7 separate regions of the Homo sapiens genome follow, and regions 1, 2, 3, 4, 6 and 7 are each linked to region 5. Evidence: promoter capture Hi-C in 16 types of primary human blood cells and fetal thymus (Javierre and others, 2016). All regions are on one chromosome and are shown on one strand. The core of a region is centred on a gene start or on the middle of the fragment in contact, and the rest is flanking DNA. Distances in the headings are between cores, read along the strand shown.

The links. The method cuts DNA at HindIII sites, captures the fragments that hold promoters and counts their contacts. A CHiCAGO score of 5 or more calls a contact.
Region 1: a fragment that was not itself captured here is called in contact with the fragment with the promoter of KPNB1 in region 5 in 1 of 17 cell types (erythroblasts); the score reaches 7.0 in erythroblasts.
Region 2: a fragment that was not itself captured here is called in contact with the fragment with the promoter of KPNB1 in region 5 in 1 of 17 cell types (erythroblasts); the score reaches 5.4 in erythroblasts.
Region 3: a fragment that was not itself captured here is called in contact with the fragment with the promoter of KPNB1 in region 5 in 6 of 17 cell types (erythroblasts, megakaryocytes, naive B cells and 3 more); the score reaches 19.0 in erythroblasts.
Region 4: a fragment that was not itself captured here is called in contact with the fragment with the promoter of KPNB1 in region 5 in 5 of 17 cell types (erythroblasts, megakaryocytes, fetal thymus and 2 more); the score reaches 10.9 in erythroblasts.
Region 6: a fragment that was not itself captured here is called in contact with the fragment with the promoter of KPNB1 in region 5 in 3 of 17 cell types (erythroblasts, neutrophils and non-activated CD4 T cells); the score reaches 7.1 in erythroblasts.
Region 7: a contact is called between a fragment that was not itself captured here and the fragment with the promoter of KPNB1 in region 5, in 1 of 17 cell types (neutrophils). The highest score is 5.1, in neutrophils.

The regions. Positions count from the first base shown.
Region 1 is chr17:47,259,625-47,262,324 of GRCh38, reverse strand. All of the region lies in intron 1 of ITGB3 (integrin subunit beta 3), which reads right to left. Among named protein-coding and RNA genes, the nearest start is that of ITGB3, 7.1 kb to the right of the region's middle. The HindIII fragment of the contact is 884 bases long and covers 1,003-1,886 here.
Region 2 is chr17:47,234,908-47,237,607 of GRCh38, reverse strand. No RefSeq gene overlaps it. Among named protein-coding and RNA genes, the nearest start is that of ITGB3, 18 kb to the left of the region's middle. RefSeq lists an enhancer at 1-308. The HindIII fragment of the contact is 1,167 bases long and covers 718-1,884 here.
Region 3 is chr17:47,160,552-47,163,251 of GRCh38, reverse strand. The region is part of intron 4 of CDC27 (cell division cycle 27); the gene reads left to right. Among named protein-coding and RNA genes, the nearest start is that of CDC27, 27 kb to the left of the region's middle. The HindIII fragment of the contact is 220 bases long and covers 1,227-1,446 here.
Region 4 is chr17:47,177,209-47,179,908 of GRCh38, reverse strand. All of the region lies in intron 2 of CDC27 (cell division cycle 27), which reads left to right. Among named protein-coding and RNA genes, the nearest start is that of CDC27, 11 kb to the left of the region's middle. The HindIII fragment of the contact is 6,719 bases long and covers 1-2,700 here.
Region 5 is chr17:47,648,584-47,651,283 of GRCh38, reverse strand. It overlaps KPNB1 (karyopherin subunit beta 1), which reads right to left and starts at 1,365. Exons shown (of 22, transcript NM_002265.6): 1 at 1,000-1,365; 2 at 840-898. The coding sequence starts at 1,039. It overlaps KPNB1-DT (KPNB1 divergent transcript), which reads left to right and starts at 1,856. Exons shown (of 4, transcript NR_171700.1): 1 at 1,856-1,888. RefSeq lists silencers at 345-394, 695-834, 945-1,014, 1,445-1,624, 1,635-1,684 and 1 more and an enhancer at 2,365-2,700. The HindIII fragment of the contact is 6,441 bases long and covers 1-2,700 here.
Region 6 is chr17:47,194,946-47,197,645 of GRCh38, reverse strand. It overlaps a transcript of MYL4 not described here. Among named protein-coding and RNA genes, the nearest start is that of CDC27, 7.0 kb to the right of the region's middle. The HindIII fragment of the contact is 3,103 bases long and covers 1-2,700 here.
Region 7 is chr17:48,109,165-48,111,864 of GRCh38, reverse strand. All of the region lies in intron 1 of SNX11 (sorting nexin 11), which reads right to left. Among named protein-coding and RNA genes, the nearest start is that of SNX11, 2.7 kb to the right of the region's middle. RefSeq lists a silencer at 2,226-2,399. The HindIII fragment of the contact is 3,741 bases long and covers 1-2,700 here.

The DNA.
Region 1 (2,700 bases), core at 195-2,694, 390 kb after region 5:
GCTCAGCCCAGGGGTGCCCTATTGGTGACCTCCTTGGCATCCTGCTGTCCAGTTCTGCAGCCTTCCTCCCCCAGCTCATGTGTTATGGGTGTGGACAGCAGGCCGCGGTGCTAACACCAGTCCTTACTGCCAGCCTGTCTTGGTAGGAAAGCAAACTGGTTCAACCGTTTGGGAGGACAAATTGACAACACCTACTAAAATTTAAATTTAAAATACGCATGCCCTTCGACCCACCAACTTTCATTCAAGAAATTAAGTCTGTAGAAACACTTGAACAAAGGTGCATAATAAATGAATAAGGATATCCCCTGCAGCTTTATTTGTAGTAGCAAATAATTGGGAATGATCCCAATGTCTGCCAACAGGGAATTGGTTAAGTAAATTCTGATATATCCATATAACAAAGAGTATGCCTTATGGCTAGAATTATAGCTCTTGGGATAAATAATGGAAAGCCATAAACTGACATAAAAAGATGCCTAGAGTATATTATTAAGAGACAATGGGCCAGGTGCGGTGGCTTATGCGTGTAATCCCAGCACTTTGGGAGGCCGAGGCGGGTGGATCACCTGTGGTTAGGAGTTCAAAACCAGCCTGGCCAACATGGCCAAACCCTGTCTCTATCAAAAACACAAAAATTAGCTGGGCGTGGTGGCAAATGCCTGTGATCCCAGCTACTCGGGAATCTGAGGCAGGAGAATTGCTTGAACCCAGGAGGCGGAGGTTGCAGTGAGCTGGGATCACACAACTGCACTCCAGCCTGGGCGACAGAGTGAGACTCCATCTCAAAAAAAAAAAAAAAAAAGACAATGATCCTATTATTGATTATCCTATTTGAGAAATAACAATAATGATAAATAATTATATATGTTGACAAATACATAGAAAAAAACTCTGCAGTAACTATCAACAGTGGTTATCTTTAAGGACAAGACTACAAGGAACTGGTACTGGTACTTTCTGCATTATATTTCTGAGCTGCCTTTTTTTAAATAATAAGCTTAATTACTTTTATAAGCTAAAAGAAAATTAAAGCTAATTTGAAATGTCCTCTGTTCTGCCTCCCTGTCGACATTTGCATTTATTTAAATGTAGGCTCCCCAGAGTCTGCTGGGCTTTCCACAAACTGCACCTTCAGCATCAAAACCTCTTGGAATGGCAAACTCAGCAGGAACACAGAAATGAGCTTTGGGGTATGGTTTGCATGAGGAGATGCTGGTCAAGGGATATAAATTTTCAGTTAGACAAGAGGAATAAGTTCAAGAGATCCACTGTACAACATGGTGACTATAGTTAATAACCGTATGTCATCTACCTGAAAATTGCTGGGAGGAGATTTTTAAGTGTTCTCACCACAAATAAATCAGAAGTATGTATGTGAGGTAATGCATATGTTATTTAACTTCATTTAACCATTCCACAATGCGCACATATTTCAAGACATCATGTTGTACATCATAAATATACATAATTTTTATTTGTCAATTTCAAACAATAATAATAATAAAAGAGAATGGAAAAAAAAAAAGGAATAAACTTTGTCAGGCCCACTCTCACAGCCTTCAAGAACTGCCCAGGGCAGCATGGTCTGTTCTCAACTTGTGGAAGTCCCAGAAAGGAAACACCACCCTCCCCTCCACTGGGGATTGGTCAAACATGCTCCTTGCAGGCGGCTCCAGCAAAGGCTCAACCTGGAGTTCAACACGTGCGATGGCTAAAGTTGGGGTCTGGAGCCATCAGTGGATCTCACAGACCCAGGTTTCTCTATCCAAAATTTCCATTAGCAAAGAGATGTAGGGTTGACTACAGGGACTTTTTAAGTGGCTACTGAATATGTCTTTTGCCAAACTTCTGGAGCTCTCTTCTAGTGCAAAGTTTTTCAAGCTTGATTTTAACAGCAGGATCTTCTTTTTTTCCCAAAGAAATCCTTACATGAACTCCAAATTGTTAATTAGTTAAAGGAGTTCCAGTTGAAGGTGGTGGGGAAGGGGCAGGAGCAAATTGAAGTATTTCCCTTCATCTTCTCTGTCCCACTTTGCAGCCCCTGGGACACCAAGAGACTGATGCCTAAAGGTAAAGTCACTTGTTCAAAGTCACCCAGCAAGCTGATGAAAAAGCCTGCAGAACTGTGAATCGAATGTAGGTTTCTTAATTCCAGATACGTTGTTCTTTCCACACTGAGCTTTTTTCTATATAAAAGGAAGTACTATATATCATGGGTTTAAGTAAAGGAATACACACACACACACAAATAAACATAAATGCGAGGGGAAATGTCTAAACAGAACACACCACCTGATTAATATGAACATTATAGGGGAATAGAATTAGAAGGGAACCAGCAATTTTAACGACTGACAATGATCCTATGTGGATGAACCTATTTGAGAAATAACAATATTTGTTTTGTTTTGTTCTGTTTTTTGAGACAGAGTTTTGCTCTTGTTGCTCAGGCTGGAGTGCAATGGCACAATCTCGGCTCACTGCAACCTCTGCCTCCTGGGTTCAAGCGATTCTCCTGCCTCAGCCTCCCGAGTAGCTGGGATTACAGACGCATGCCACCATGCCCAGCTGATTTTGTATTTTTAGTAGAGACAGGGTTTCTCCATGTTGGTCAGGCTGGTCTTGAACTCCTGACCTCAGGTGATCCGCCCGCCTCGGCCTCCCAAAGTGCTGGGATTACAGGCATGAGCCACCGCG
Region 2 (2,700 bases), core at 52-2,551, 410 kb after region 5:
GGACAGGAGGCAGACAGGCTCCTGGGTGGAAGAGGGAGGGTCCCCAGTGAAGCTCCACTTTCAAGGGAGTGGCAGGGTGGGGGGCAGCTGCCAGTCCAAGACCAGAGAGGGAACCTGAAGTGCTTTTCTCTGAACCCTGCCCATAGCCACCTATGGACAAATCAGCATGCACTTCCTCCCTTATGAAGCCCATAAAAACCCTGGACTCAGCCAGACTGAGCAGAGGAGGGAAAGCATGACAGCCAGGGAGGTGATGACCAGCTGCAGAGAGGAGCTGCCCTCCCCAGAGGAGCTGCCCACCCCAGGGTCTCCTGTCTGCTGAGAGCTGAGGAGATGACCAGCTGCAGAGAGGAGCTACCCTCTCTGCTGAGAGCTGAACACTTATTGGGACACCCTGGCTATGGAGAGGAGCCGCTCACTACAGGTCTCCTCTGAGCTGTTCTGTTGCTCCATAAAGCTCCTCTTCATCTTGCTCACCCTCCACTTGTCTATGTACTCATTCTTCCTGGTTGCAGGGCAATAACTTAGGACCTGCCAAATGGCAAGGCTAAAAGAGCTGTAACACAAACAGTGCTGAAACATGCCGCTTGCTTGCCCCATTGGGGGCAAAGAGGAGAGAAAATCTGTGGCCCTTTAGGAATCTCAGACCTGGGAGCTCCCCAAGCCAGGGCTGTGACTCCCTCTTTGGGGCCCTGCAGTTCCTGGCATCTCCAAGCTTCTGGGTGCCACTGCATTCCCCACTGCCAGCCAGGGAAGCTATTTGTGCACCCAGTCCAGCAGCAGCCTCACAGAGAGCTGGCACCCATGTTACCACCTGGAGCTGCCCACCCTGTGGCAGCAGCCGGCATGTCCAACTGCGCACAGTGGCTAGACCCCATGCTCACTCATGCACCCCTTACCACTCCATGTCTGACTTGCAGTCTCCCTTGAAGGCATGGGATTCAGGCCGATAATGTGAGCGGAGCATGGCCTGCCAGGCCGAGTGGGTGGAACAAGCCCAGTAGGCCTGAGCAAAACTTGGGCAAAGGCGCTGTTGGCCACAGACGTTTCCCACCAGAAAAGCAACACTCCAAAGATCCAATAACACTACCAAGTCCAAATAATCTGAGTCCCATTCACGGAAAAAAGAAATTTAGTAATAGGTATACCTGAGTTACAAATCACATGACACAAGTGACTTACTGTCTCTCCTGCTACTCCCTACCCACTCCATCTCTTCTCCCACAACCCACAAGACTCATTGCAACCAGATGCCACAAAGAAAGGACCAGGGGACAGGGTCACCAGGACACATCCCCTCATTCCACCTTCCCAACTGGAGCCGCAAGCAGCATTCCTCATTTCCTTTAATTTAAGGTCTCTTTGGCTCTTAATCCCTGGGAAGTGTCCCTAACTCACCTCTAGTCTCTGATCATTTCTGTACTCTAAATCATTTCAGTATTTCTGCCCTAATTTTGTTAAGTGTTGGTCGGATTTATTTATTTATTTATTTATTTATTTACCTGCTAGCAGGTTTGTACCAAGGCCTGAATGCTTTGCTCTACACTTCTTTGAGTATTCCTAGTGTCATGTTATTTGGTGGCCAAAATGGTACATGATGGCTGAGTAACCAAAGCTGGAGAAGAGGGGAGAAAAAGAGCTGGAAGGGATCCCAGAGCACCTTTGTCTCCTATACTGCAAAAGGAAACTGAAGCCCAGGAGGAGAAAGTGACTTGACAAGGTGAAAAGTTTGACTGGTGGTGAGGGACAACCAGGTAGTTTTTGTTTCCTACTTCACGGCATTGGGTAGAGAAAATTGGGGTGGGGCCAAGGAAAGCAAAGGGCAATAAGGCATGGCGCTAAGAACACAGGCAGCGAGCTGATGTGGGCCTGATTCCTGAAGCTTCCACCCACTCACTGAGTGCCCTGGTGAGAGTTACTTAACCTCCAGAAGCCTCAGTTTTCTCATCTGTAGAATGGGGATAACCACACCTACCTCATGAGGAATCTCTGGGAAGGGTAAATGAATAATGTACACAAAGCACTTGAAACAGCATAAGCACAGGGGAAGTATGCAGAAGAGGGAGGTGCTCTTACTATTATGAGCAGTATTTCTCTCTCCATTTGTCTTCTAGGCATTTTTTATTCTTCTTTCTTTCTTTCTTTTTTTTTTTTGGTCGGGTGCAGGATCTCACTCTGTTGCCCAGGCTGGAGTGCAGAGGCACAATCAAGTCTCACTGCACCACTGACCTTCCAGGCTCAAGTGATCCCCCCACCTCAGCCATTGGAGTAGCAGGGACCAGAGACACACACCACCACATTGGCTTTTTTTTTTTCTTCACTTTTTGTAGAGATAGGGTCTCACTGTGTTGCCCAGGCTGGTCTTGAAGTCCTGGGCTCATGTGATCCTCCCACCCTGATCTCCCAAAGTGCTGGGATATCAGATGTGAGCCACCACACCCAGCCATTTCTATTATTTTTGAGTTTTCTAAAAGAATAATGGTTCTTTCATTTTCCTTCTTTTGCTAAGGTTATTCCCATTGCTTAAGATACCCTCCTCCCCTACAGAGCTAATGTGTATTGAGTCCTTACTATATTGCAGACACTGTTTTAAGTGCTTTACACATTTTAAATTATTTGATCTTCTTAATAACCAAATTGGGTCAGTATGACTATTATCCCCAGTTTATAGATTAGGAAATTAGCCAGGCATGGTGGCTC
Region 3 (2,700 bases), core at 87-2,586, 490 kb after region 5:
CTATCTCCAGTATAGACTTTTTTTTGTCTTTTTGTCTATTACAGCACATGAGACTTCTATGTTTAGGACACAACTGATACTAAGTCTGATTCCTAAATTATCCTATTTCTTCCCAATACCACTTAAATAATATTTTTTATGCCAGTTCTTTAGGAAACTTCTGGCTGGGTTTTGTGTGTATCACTCAATTTTAATAAAAACTTCGATCTAAATTTAGAGTACCCCAGCACTTTACTTTTCTTAAATCTTTGTCCCCTTTTATCTCTCTATTGAATAATTAGAGGTTTTATCTTCCAGGCTAGATTATTATAATTCCACACCTGACTTCTTCCCTAGTTAGCTCTTATGTGATTTATACATATATCTATCCATATGTGTATCTAATCTCTTAACAGACATGAATTTTGATTTAAATTTCTTCTGTTTTGTGGTCTATTCATGAAATAATTACTCATTATAAAAATCAGCCTTGCCAACTTAACCAAGTTTGATTTTTTCTTTTCCTAATATAAAAATAATACAATTTTAATTTAAGTAATACTGGAAATGAGACTTTTCAGCACAAAGGATCACCCCTCTTACTTTTCCAGAATATTTTTCCCGTAACAGATTATTTTGTCTTTGCTTAATCAATGTTTGTCTACTTCCTTTCTGGCCATGTAAATAATTCATACAGTTCACTAATGCAACTTTTAAAATTATTAATAAAAATGTCTGTTTTATATCACATTCTGCTGGCAAAGCAAGGGGACGGGGCTACTTGAAAACAGGAAACAGGTAGTATAAAAATGGCAAAGACTAATTCTCCATTCTCAGAGAGCTTATAATCACTTGCAAGAGAGAATGCTTGAAAAGATAAATAGGCAGACTATGGTTAGTATTATGAGACAGAAGGGGCCTAGATAGATGAATTGAAGGGATGAAGAGGCAAGACATTAATTAGGAATCTATTGATGGTTTAGATGAGAAGCAATAAGGATCCTAACAGTGAAAATAAAGAGGGAACTTAAGCCAGAAATAAAATGAAAGTACATGAATTATGGCTTCGTTGCTGATTGGCTGTGAAGGTCAGAGGAGAAGAAGAAGGAGTCAGTGCTATCTCTAAGTAGGATTTTTGAGTCTGTAAACTTGTAAAAATAGTGGTGTCCTTAAAACACACACAGAAAGAAAGAGAAAGAACAGATTTTGGGGAGAAAAGATGAACTTGACTTTGAATTTACTAAGCTTTAGATAAGGAAGTAAAACCTAGATGAAATTGCCCATCAGGCAAAGGAAAGGTAAGGTTGAAGTTAGAAGTAGATTTAGTTGTCATCTCTGTAGAAGGGATTCTCACCAGACAGAGATTTTCTAAAGAAGGGACTGAGGCCTGAGGGAATGGCTTTACTTAGGAACTACAAGAAGAAAAAAAAAAAAAATGAAGAAATGGTCATTGACCTATTTGAAGCTTAGGATAATCCTCAAACAATGAGATTTCACTGTATTTTGTTTTTATTTATTTATTTGAGACAGAGTCTCGCTCTGTCACCCAGGCTGGAGTGCAATGGCATGATCTCGACTCACTGTAACCTCCACCTCCAGGATGCAAGCAGTTCTCCTGCCTCAGCCTCCCAGGTAGCTGGGATTACAGGTGCCCACCACCACACCTGGCTAATTTTATGTTTTTAGTAGAGACGAGTTTTCACCGTGTTGGCCAGGCTGGTCTCGAACTCCTGACCTCAAGTGATCCACCTGCCTTGGCCTCCCAAAGTGCTGAGATTACAGGCATGAGCCACCGTGCCTGGCTGTGTATTTTCTTTTGCTTAGCCTTATGTTAAAAGCTCCCAAGCACTGATTTGCCACGTTCCACCCTATTACTTTCAGCAAATGTTTTTTTGTATGCCCTTTCTTCATTTCCTATTTCTAAATTACCACTCTATCCCTGGTGGGTGATTATGTCAGTCTTATGACAATTATATTTAAGAAATTTCAGGCCAGTTGTGGTGGCTCACACCTGTAATCCCAGGTTTGAGACCAGCCTGGGCAACATAGCAAAACACCGCTAACTTTTTTTTTTTTTTTTAATTAGCCAGCCATGGTAGCATGCACTTGTAGTCCCAGCTACTTGGGAGGCTGAGGCAGGAGAATCACTTAAGGCCAGGAGTCCAGCCTGGGCAACATAGCAGGATCCTATCCCTTTAAAAAAAAAAAAAAGAAAGAAATTTTTGATCTAAATGATCTTAGATACAGACTTTGATAAAACTTATTTATGTTTTCCAAAAGTCTGCATCCTACTTCTGCTTCCTACTTTGTCCATTTGTTTATTGGCTTAAATTACACAAGTGTGGGAAGCTAGATATCCTTCAACTGGTAGTACTTTCTTTGTCATATCACTTATTTCTAGTTTTTACTCACTTGAAAATTTGGCAGTGAGGCAAACTAATATCTGGTTCCCCAAGGGTACCTTCTTCATAGTTCTCTGAGGTTATACTGACATTCCGCACATAAACAGATGATGTATACATTTTACCTGATAGTTTCAGTTGAGGATCTCGGTTAGATTTCTTCTGGTCCTTTATATATAAAACCTTAGAATTTTGGAAGAATTGCTGTTCTGAATTTTTTTCCATTTGATATTGAAGCATTTGAACTTCAGACCAGGTAAGTTGTATTTTTTACCTGAATGCTTTAATTGGTCTCACTAGCCACTAACCCCTTCCATCC
Region 4 (2,700 bases), core at 42-2,541, 470 kb after region 5:
ATAGTTAGGCTCTTAAAAATTGTAAATTCATGGTTTAGAATTCAATTAGATTTTCCCATAGAATTGGTGGCAAGATTCCCAGATTAGTCCACATAAAGCTGTTTAATCCACGTTATTTATGTACCTGATACAATGCTTGGCACTTGGAAAGTTGCTCAGTAAATGTTAGTTTCTTTCAATATAGAACCTCACCATTCGGTTTAACCATATTTATATGAGGAAAGATTTTAGAATTAAGTGTAGTAAGAGCAGATACTATCCTGGCTCAGTAATAATAACAATAATTCTATCACTTATTGATTTCTTACTGTATACTAGGTACTCTAAGTATTTAATATTAGTTACTAATTTAATCTTCAATAATCCTATCAAATAGACATTGCTATTGCCATTTTCTGGATGAAGAACTGAGACTAATGTCCACAGGCGGTAACTAGTAATCTGTCTGATTCCGCTTTCCCAAGAGTAGCAATTACCACTTCTCTGATTTGCAACCATAGTAGGCATCACTAATCCATTACAGTACTCATTCCCACTGAACCAACCTCAGAATTCTTGGCAACAGTTTTCTTGGTGGACAATATCAGTTGATATGCTAGATGTAACCTGTTTGCTCAGGGGCCTCCTATGTCACTAGTAGCAGTTTCTATATTTGGAGAAAGACATCCAACAAGGCATGAGGCTAAAGCAGTTGATCAGTAGGATCTTCTGTAAGTCAAATTCTTGAAATAATTTCTCAGTTTCACTAGTTCTTTGTCGCCCATTTGTCTTTCTCTCGAGATTTATAGTCGGCCTGAGACTGTGGGATCAGAAAGAAGGAACAGCAGAATGATATAAGAGAGAATCTGGGAGGCTGAGGTGGGCAGATCACCTGAGGTTGGGAATTTGAGACCAGCCTGACCAACATGGAGAAACCCCATCTCTACTAAAAAATACAAAATTAGCCGGTGTAGTGGCACATGCCTGTAATCCCAGCCACCCAGGAGGCTGAGGCAGGAGAATTGCTTGAACCCGGGAGGCGGAGGTTGCGGTGAGCCGAGATTACACCACTGCACTCCAGCCTGGGCAACAGAGCGAGACTCCGTCTCAAAAAAAAAACGGAAAAAGGAAAGAGAATCTGAATTCAGATACTCATTTGCCATTTGATCTTAAGCCAAAAGTCATTCTGAGCCTTATTTTCCTTATCTTTAAAATAGAAGAGAAATATCTGTTTAACAAGATAGTTTTAAGGACTAAATACAGTAAAATATGTAAAGAGTCTGCTGTAGTTTCTGGCACATAGAAAGTCCTTTACAGGTTCCCTCTCCCCTAACATATCCTAATACAGTGACTTTTCAGGGTTTTTTTTTTTTTTTCTTATTTTTATTTATTTATTTATTTTTGAGATAGCCTGTCACCCAGGTTGGAGTGCAGTCATGTGATCTTTTCTCACTTCAGCCTTGACCTCCCAGGCCCAAACAATCCTCCCACCTCAACCTCCCTACTAGATGAGACTACAGGCACATGCTACCATGCCCAGCTAATTTTTGTATTTTTGAGAACACGAGATCTCACAATGTTGCCCAGGCCAGTCTTAAACTCCTGGTCTCAAGCAGTCCTCCCACCTCCGTCTCCCAAAGTGCTGGGATTACAGACGTGAGCCACTGTGGCCTGGCCAGATTTTTTTTACCCTTATTAGATATGATACACTCTAATATTTTCCATTGAGTGGTTTTGTTGTTGTTGTTTTAACGTAGGCTGATAACCACTAAATTGACATCACAGTCCACTAGTGAGTTGAGATTTGCTGTTTTGGAAAAACTGTCCTAATTTTACCATCTCCCTCCAATAAATTCCCTTCCCCCATTGTAAGCATGTATTTTTCTTTCCCACCACCAATACCTGATCCCCTTGACCAAGGTTTTTCTCTTTTGTTAATTAACTGTTAAGAATGAATAGAAATAAGTGCTATACAACAAATAGAAATAGTGTTAGACTATGAGGAAAAAAATACATTAATGCAACTACTATGATAGCTCTTTGGAGATATGTGTGTGTGTGTGTGTGTGTGTACACACACATATAAAATAAGAGTTATGTTCAGAAAATCAACCAGACATAAGTTTTGTGTGCATTTTTTTCATAAGTAATTGCTACCTATGGAACTCTATGAGACTAAGAGGATTGTAACTAGTGAAAGGAAAAGAAAGAGAAACAGCTGAAAACCTTGTGTCAACATGTATTCCTAGGTTATTTTGAGGGTCCTAGCCCAGAGTTCAAAATTGCTTAAGGTCTACTGTTTTATCTTAAATTAATGTGGGTTTTACATCCCACACTGCAAAATGTTTTTGTTTGTTTGTTTCAGATAGGGTCTCCCTCTGTCACCCAGGCTGCAGTGCAGTGGCCCAATCTCGGCTGACTGCCTCCCAGGTTCAGGCAATTCTCCTGCATCAGCCTCCTGAGTAGCTGGGATTATAAGCGCCTGCGGCCACGCCCACCTAATTTTTGTATTTTTAGTAGAGATGGAGTTTCACCATGTTGGCTAAGCTGGACTCAAACTCCTAGCCTCAAGTGATCTGTCCACCTCGGCCTCCCAAAGTGCTGGGAATACAGGCGGGAGCCACTGTATCCGGTCTTTATTTTTTAATATTAGTACTTTTTAAACATTTTTTTTTAAGTCAAGATCTCCCTATGTTGCCCATGCTGGCCTCAAACACTTGG
Region 5 (2,700 bases), core at 116-2,615:
AGGCTGTTTCAACCAATCCATCCCACATTTTTATACAAAGGACCAGTCTCTAGCGGACTTAGCTTCATTTTCTCCGGACCCCTTAAATTTTAAAATATGAAAAACGAGGAACTTTCCCCTGTGATTTCATCAGCAAACAGGCCCCATCTCAAAGATGAGCCTCAGTCTGTTTTCTGGGTGCAGATCCCTAGTGATTAGGTCTCTATTCATCCAGGTCAGAAGAAAAAAAAAAAAGAAAGAAAGAAAAAGAAAAAACCCCAAGAGAGGAATAACCGAGCAAAGAGGGAAAAATATCAGTGGAAATGGGTTAAGAGGCAGTCGGGTGCCAGGCCTGGCCATGAGTACAGACCAAGGTAGCTAGGAAAGGGCAGAGCTCTAGGAAATAGGTGGGGAGAGCCACAGGGGCCACGGGATAGGAAGGAGAAGCCGGCCGGGGTCAGACAGGGCGGGCGGCCGGGCCCGGAGCTTCCACATGGCCCCTAGGCCCGACTCCCCCGCCCCCACCCCTGCTGAACACGCAGCGCCGCGCAACCTAACTTCCCTTCCCTCCCTCTTTCTCCCTCCCGCTGCACCGCCGCCCTCAGGCCGCGCAACGATTGGGCGGCAGGCAGCTCGGCGCGCCAAGCCATTGGCCAGTCGCGAGGCCCGGGGCGGGACACACCCACCGGCTTCCCGATGGCGGGGTTAGGTTGGACCGGGTTGGGGGGGGAGGGGGAGGGGGGAGGGGGACGGGATGGGGCGGGGTAGGTTCCCGAGGCCTGGGCCTCCGGGAGGGCGGGAAGGCCCCGCACGCAGGGGATGGGGACGCGGCGGGATGGGCGCGGCGGGGTAGCACGCACCAGGTTCTCCACGGCCGCACGCTCCAGGAACTTCTGCGCCGCTTCCAGCTCCAGCCGATCTAGGGGGAGGAAAGTGGGAGACGGAGCGGGGTCAGAGGGGCCGGGCCTCCCCTCCCCCACCCCAATCACCTCAGCCCTACCCCCGGCTCCTGCGTCCTACCGGGAGACACGGTCTTCTCGAGAATGGTGATCAGCTCCATGGCGGAGGTGGCGGCGGCGGCGACTCCTCCTAAGACGACGGCCCGGCCTTTCGGGCGGCGGCTCGAACTGGGGATGGGGGTTGGGGGTCGGGTGGGAAGGGAGGGTGGGGTGGGGGGCGGGGGTCACCACAAACCCATTCACCGGCTCTGTCTGGGTAGTCGGTCCGGCTCCCCTTCCTCTCCTCTTCCCTTACTTCCTCCCTCCAAATGGGCTGCTGGCGGCGGGGGAGGGACCCTGGGGGCAGCTCAGAGCGCGCTGGTGCTCGGGAGGCGGAGGGAGAAAGAAGGAAGGGAGGCTGTGAGTGAGAGGCGGCGCGCAGGGAGGGAGCGAGGGAGGGAGGAAGGCGGAGGGATATTCGGACCGGACCTCTCCGCGGAGGCGCCGCGCTCCACGACGATTGGCCGTTGTCCTGGCCACGCGGAATCCCTAACTGGCCAGGCGCTCAGCGTCGAAGGGCCGTCTCGCGCCCATTCGCCTGCTGGTTTCAAGGCCCGGGTTGGCTGGGCGGGCAGCGGAATGGAGCGCGCGGATTGGCCGAGGGGAGGGAGATTGGGATGGGGTAGGAGAGAGCCCGCCGTTGATTGGGTGGGCTTGGTAAAGGCCTTGAGCTCAGACCGGCTGAGCGCTGGGAGGAGGGTGGACCGGAGGCACGACTCGGATCCTGCGCGATTGGCTGGGATAGTAGGCGTTGATAGGATAGGGTGCCCGGGAGAACTAAGGAGAGGAGTTCGGGGTCGGGGCGCGGGAAGGCGGGAGGTGCCCGGCAACCCTAGGAGCCCGGCGCGGGGCACGATGGGACGCCCCCGGGAAGAGGCGGAGCTGGGTTCGAGCGCTGGGGCTGCGGTTGGGTAAGCGCCGTCGCTCCGAGGGGCGTGTTGCGCGAGGTTTTCGCGGGCCTGAGCGGGGGAGGGGGGACTGTTGAAGTCCTGCGCCGCGCCCACAGGAAGCTGCTTTAATGGCTAGGTCGGCTTGGTACCCTGCTTTCGGCTGGGAGGGATCCGTAAGGCCATGTGGCTCCACTGCCAATGTGTAGATGTGGAAACTGAAGCCCAGAGAGGGTATGGAACTTGTCCAAGGTCACACAGCTGGTTAATGGCTTGGTAAGGAATGGGTTCAGGAGCCCAGAGAGGGTCTGGAACTTGTCCAAGGTCACACAGCTGGTTAGTGGCTTGATAAGCTCAAGCTCTCCTGACGGCCCTTGTCCCTACAAGCAGCTTCCTCTCCAAGGAGTCCCCTAAGCCTGCTTATATGGGGCTTGAGACCTGTGCTGTGATAAATCTGACTTGCTTAGGGGTGAGCTAAGGGATTCCTCCTCTTAGACCCCCCATCCATAGCTACCAGGTACTTGACAGGATGGAAATGTTTCACCCTCCAAAAGTACCCTGTAAAGGCCCAACCTCGAACCAGAAAGAATGTGTGTACAGGAATAAAGGATTGTGGTTCTTAACCTGTTTCAGTTCTCAACCCCGGAAGAAACTCATGAATGCCTTTTCTTAGCAAAATGCATATAAAGAAAACGTGGGCCGGGCGCTGTGGCTCGCGCCTGTAATCCCAGCACTTTGGGAGGCCGAGGGGGGCGGATGACGAGTCAAGAGATCGAGACCATCCTGGCCAACATGGTGAAACCCCGTCTCTACTAAAATATAAAAAATTAGCCCGG
Region 6 (2,700 bases), core at 36-2,535, 450 kb after region 5:
AGAATGGTTGTATAGGTATCTGAAGTACAGTTTCTACTGACTGCACATTGCTTCTACACCATCATAAAGTCAAAAAATCATAACTTGGGGGCTGTCTGTAGTTTATTTCCCTGTGCTTTTGAGTCAGCCCTAGGCGCCCTAGTCATACGCCATTTAGCACATCTCGGAGCTCATCTCAATCAAGATGCATTTTCTGAATAGTCTCAATACTTCAGATACTGCCTTGACTTTAAATCCCTTAAGGATTTGGCCGGGTGCGGTGGCTCATGCCTGTAATCTCAGCACTTTGGGAGGCCAAGGCTGGCAGATCACGAAGTCAGGAGATCGAGACCATCCTGGCTAACACGGTGAAACCCTATCTCTACTCAAAATACAAAAAATTAGCCAGGCGTGGTGGCGGGCGCCTATAGTCCCAGCTACTCGGGAGGCTGAAGCAGGAGAATGACATGAACCCGGGAGGTGGAGCTTGCAGTGAGCCGAGATAGCGCCACTGCACTCCAGCCTGGGCGACAGTGCGAGACTCTGTCTCAAAAAAAAAAAAAAAAAAAAAAAACCCTTTAAGGATTTATGTGCAAGACCAGCATGTTCTCTGGGCCCAGAAAGGGGGAGTCAAAAAAAAAGCATCATGTTTAGATCAGTGAGATGAAATTAAGTCATCAAGTCATTCAATCATCAGATATTTCAAAAATATTTATATATTTACAATATTTTAACGAAACAAGAGCGAAATATTATAATATTTTAGCAAAACAACAACAACAAAAAATATTTATATATTTTATAATATTTGTGCAGGGCACTGAACTAGGTGATGGGGACATAATGTTCAAACCAAGGTCCCTGCCTTCAATGCAGCTTATATTAAACAAATACGATTAAAATTACCATACATACTATGAAAGAAAAGAACAAAAATGGCATGAGAGAGAATAACAGGCTGGAGCTAAGAATTTAAATTAGGTAGGTCTAGGAATATTCTGAGGATGTGATACTGAAGCTGAGGCTTGAAGAATAAATAGAATTTCACTGGTCAAAGAGTAAGGGAAATGTATTTCAGGAAGAAAGAATAATATGTAGAAAGACTTCCACTTTAATCACTCAGTCAATATATTTCTTAAGAATTTTCTACATATGTGGTGTTTTTCAAAGAACAATATACAGAAATATAAGACTTGGCCCTTGCATTAGGGAGACAAGACATAAACAGAATAATCAATTATATAAGTCTACCTGGGCTTGCCATAACAACATACCACACACCGGGTGGCTTGAACATTAGAGATTTATTTTCTCATGGTTCTGGAGGCTAGAGGTCCATGATCAAAGTGCTGGCAAAACAGATTCTGGTGAGGGCTCTCTTCCTAGATGTTGGCCTTTTCCCTGTGTCCTCCTATGACCCTTCTTTGGTGAATGCCCACAGAGAGATCAAACTTTCCTGTGCATCTTTTTATAAGGACACTAATTCTGTCGGATCAGGGCCCCATCTTTATGATATCATTTAACTTTAATCACTTTCTTAGAGACCCCATGTCCAAATACAGCCACACTAGGGGTTAGCTTCAACATATGAATTTTGAGGAGATGCAACCAGTCTATAACATCAATCAACAAACAAAAATAATACTAGGAACACAGTGAGTTTATTCTATTCATTCATTAAACAAATAATACTAAGTTCCCATTAGATGCCAGATACTGTACTAAGTGTTGAGAATACACAGGGAACAAGGCAGACAGGGCTTCTGCCCTCATGGAGCTTATAGACTAGACCAGAAGTAGACAATTAAACAGATAATTAATTACAGCAAAGAGTGATGGGAGTAATGACAAGTCTGGTAGCACTAGAGTAACAGCAGGGAGAGCCAAGCTATCCCAGAGGAGCAGAAAAGGCCTGGAAGAAGTATATTTGGAGGATAAGCAGAGCTAGCCAGATGAAGAATAGAATTAAGATGAAGAGTGGAATTAAGAGGGTTCTGGGGAGAGTGCAGTACATGCAAAGCCTGTGAGGCAAGAGAGTGGGTGATTTTGGGAGGCCATGGCAGGCGGATCACCTGAGATCAGGAGTTGGAGACCAGCCTGGCCAACATGGTAAAACCCAGTCTCTACTAAAAATACTTGGCTGGGCACGGTGGCTCACACCTGTAATTCCAACACTTTGGGAGGCCAAGGCGGGCAGATCACCTGAAGTCGGGAGTTCGAGGCCAGCCTGACCAACATGGAGACACCCCGTCTCTACTAAAAATACAAAATTAGCTGGGCATGGTGGTCTATGCCTGTAATCCCAGCTACTTGGGAGGCTGAGGCAGGAGAATCGCTTGAACCTGGGAGGCAGAGGTTGCGGTGAGCCAAGATCATGCCATTGCACTCCAGCCTGGGCAACAAGAGCAAAACCCCGTCTCAAAAAAAAAAAAAAAAATTAGCCCACTGTGGTGGCATGCACCTGTAATCCCAGCTACTTACTTAGGAGCCTGAGGCAGGAGAATTGCTTGAACCCGGGAGGCAGAGTTTGCAGTGAGCCAAGAGTGCACCATTGCACTCCAGCCTGGGTGACAACAGTGAGACTCTGTCTCAAAAAAAAAAAAAAAAAAAAAAAGTTCCATGAAGGGGCTGGGCACCGTGGCTCACGCCTGTAATCCCAGCACTTTGGGAGGCTGAGACGGGTGGACCACTTGAGCTCAGGAGTTCGAGAAGAGCCTGAGC
Region 7 (2,700 bases), core at 172-2,671, 460 kb before region 5:
GCTCAATGCCAAGCTAAAAGGCCCTGGGGGATTTGCCTCCCTTCTCAGACCAGGCCCTCAACTAGGCCACCTCTCCCCAAAGCGTGTTGGAGTCTACAGAAAGTTTGTCACACGCAGCCAGAACAGGCGGGTCCAGATGTAAAACTTTTGCCTTGAAGAATGCAGGCACAACAGGGTCTGGTGAGCACTCACATCACAGCATTTTTTTTTTTTTTTTGAGGCAGAGTTTCACTCTTGTTGCCCAGGCTGGAGTGCAATGGCACAATCTCGGCTCACCACAACCTCTGCCTCCTGGGTTCAAGCAATTCTCCTGCCTCAGTCTCCCGAGTAGCTGGGATTACAGGCACGTGCCACCACACCCAGCTAATTTTGTATTTTTAGTAGAGACGGGGTTTCTCCATGTTGGTCAGGCTGGTCTCGAACTCCTGACCTCAAGTGATCCGCCCTCCTCGGCCTCCCAAAGTGCTGGGATTACAGGCGGGAGCCACCACGCCCTGCCAGATCACAGCTTTGAAAGCGAGCCTAACAGCACCCCCTCCCGGCTGTTTAGAGACAACCAAGTCCCCACAAACACCAATGCTTCTGCATTTCTCCCAGTCTCACTAACAACCAGTCAACTCCCCACAGGTGAATCATAGAGCTAGAGCACTCCAAGGAGCACCTGAGTGGGTTGCCCAGTTGGGACCTTCCCCTTATCCAATCCATACTCTGGAACCCGAGCCAATTGTTCTAATTACTTCCTCTCCTGACATGCCATCCGGTTTGTACTTCTGTCCAAGCACCCCACAGCTGCACAGGTCGACTCAGGATGCGTTCTGCTCCTTTGTAAAGATTCATTAAAGCCTCAGCCCCTGATTTTCCCCAATGTGGCAGTTCACGTGTATAGCGACATCACCCACTCCGACAAGGGGACCATGAAGGCTGCAGCACGGGGTTACTCAAGTCCAATGGGGCCCATGATGTCACCTTCTGTTAAAATACAGCACTAATCTTGTTACTTCTACAACTATTCCAACAGCATCCACCCTGGCTGCCGCCTGCACCCCCTTCTCTCTTAAGAGAGAAACAATAAGGTTTAATTTCCCTTTCCAATTTACCTTGAAATGAAAACTGACTTCAGCCAATATGTACTGCCAACAAATGATCCAGGCTGGCTCCTGGGAAAACAAGACTATCTCTAATATCTCTAAGCCCTCCCTCTCCTCCCCCATCCCGTACTCATTCACATACCCACTCATTTTTACAGTCCCACAATTAATTTTAAACACATTCTCTTATTAGTTCTGCCTTACCATTAGAACACTGTGTAATGAGTTTCCTTCTATTTTATGTTTTGCTAACACAAGGCTAACATTTCAAAAGAAGGGGAACTCATTTACACCATGAAATTAGCAAAGCAAACCACTTTTTCAATTCTCTCCAATATACCAGAAGTATCTCCACAGACAAACACTGCATGCAGAAACGAAGCTGCATGGTCCATGACAAAATTGGGCTACACAATATTGAGCAAACCTAAGGTTTTGTGATTTCAGTACCATCTTAAATGGTATTCTTGCTGACAATCTGATTTTTATCTGATGCAGCCACCACCTCCAAGGGGTCCTGAACTGAAAGGTGGGAAATTCCAATTCCATAACAACCCATATATAACATTCCAGATATCAGTCAAATGTCTGAGACCAAAAAGAGCAGACCTATTTGCTGTGAACAATGAACCTCCTTAAGTTTTTTTTTTCTCTTCTCTTTGCAGGCATTGGATAAACTGCCAGCACAGGAGCAGAGAGTTAAATATTCTGAAGTGTCTTTAAACAAAACTAACAACGGGAAAGACGATGACAAGGAAATCACAGTCATCCACTCAGTGGAGCTCATACATCTTTTGTGCCTTGAAAAAGGTTTGTCAAATTCAGGACCATAATTTAGGAACGAAATGATCATCATACCCTTGGTCTCAGGAAGTTTGTATAGGGCCCTGCACTACCTTCATGAAGAAATTCTTCTTTCCTTTGGGGCCAATACCACTCAGAAACAAATAGCTATGAACTGGCTTTTTAAAAACCTCCAGACACCAGCCTGGCCAACGTAATGAAACTCCGTCTCTACTAAAAATAAAAAAAATTAGCGGGCGTGGTGGCAGGCGCCTGTAATCCCACCTACTTGGGAGACTGAAGCAGGAGAATCACTTGAACCCGGGAGGCGGAGGTTGCAGTGAGCCGAGATCGCGCCACTGCACTCCAGCCCAGGCGACAGTGCAAGACTCCGTTGTCAAAAAAAAAAACACAAAAAACAAAAAACCTCCAGATGGGCCGGGTGCGGTGGCTCACGTCTGTAATCCCAGCACTTTGGGAGGCCGAGGCGGGCGAAATACGAGGTCAAGAGATTGAGACCATCCTGGCCAACATGGTGAAACCCCTTCTTTACTAAAAATACAAAAATTAGCTGGGCATGGTGGCGCGTGCCTGTAGTCCCAGCTACTCGGGAGACTGAGGCAGGAGAATCAGTTGAACCCAGGAGGTGGAGGTTGCAGTGAGCCGAGATCGCACCACTGCACTCCATCCTGGCAACAGAGTGAGACTCCGTCTCAAAAAAAAAAAAAGAAAGTTTCAGTTGTAACTGTCCTTAAAAACACTGGGCTGGCCCAGTGGCTCACGCCTGTAATCCAACACTTTGGGAAGCTGAGGCGGGCAGAACACTTGA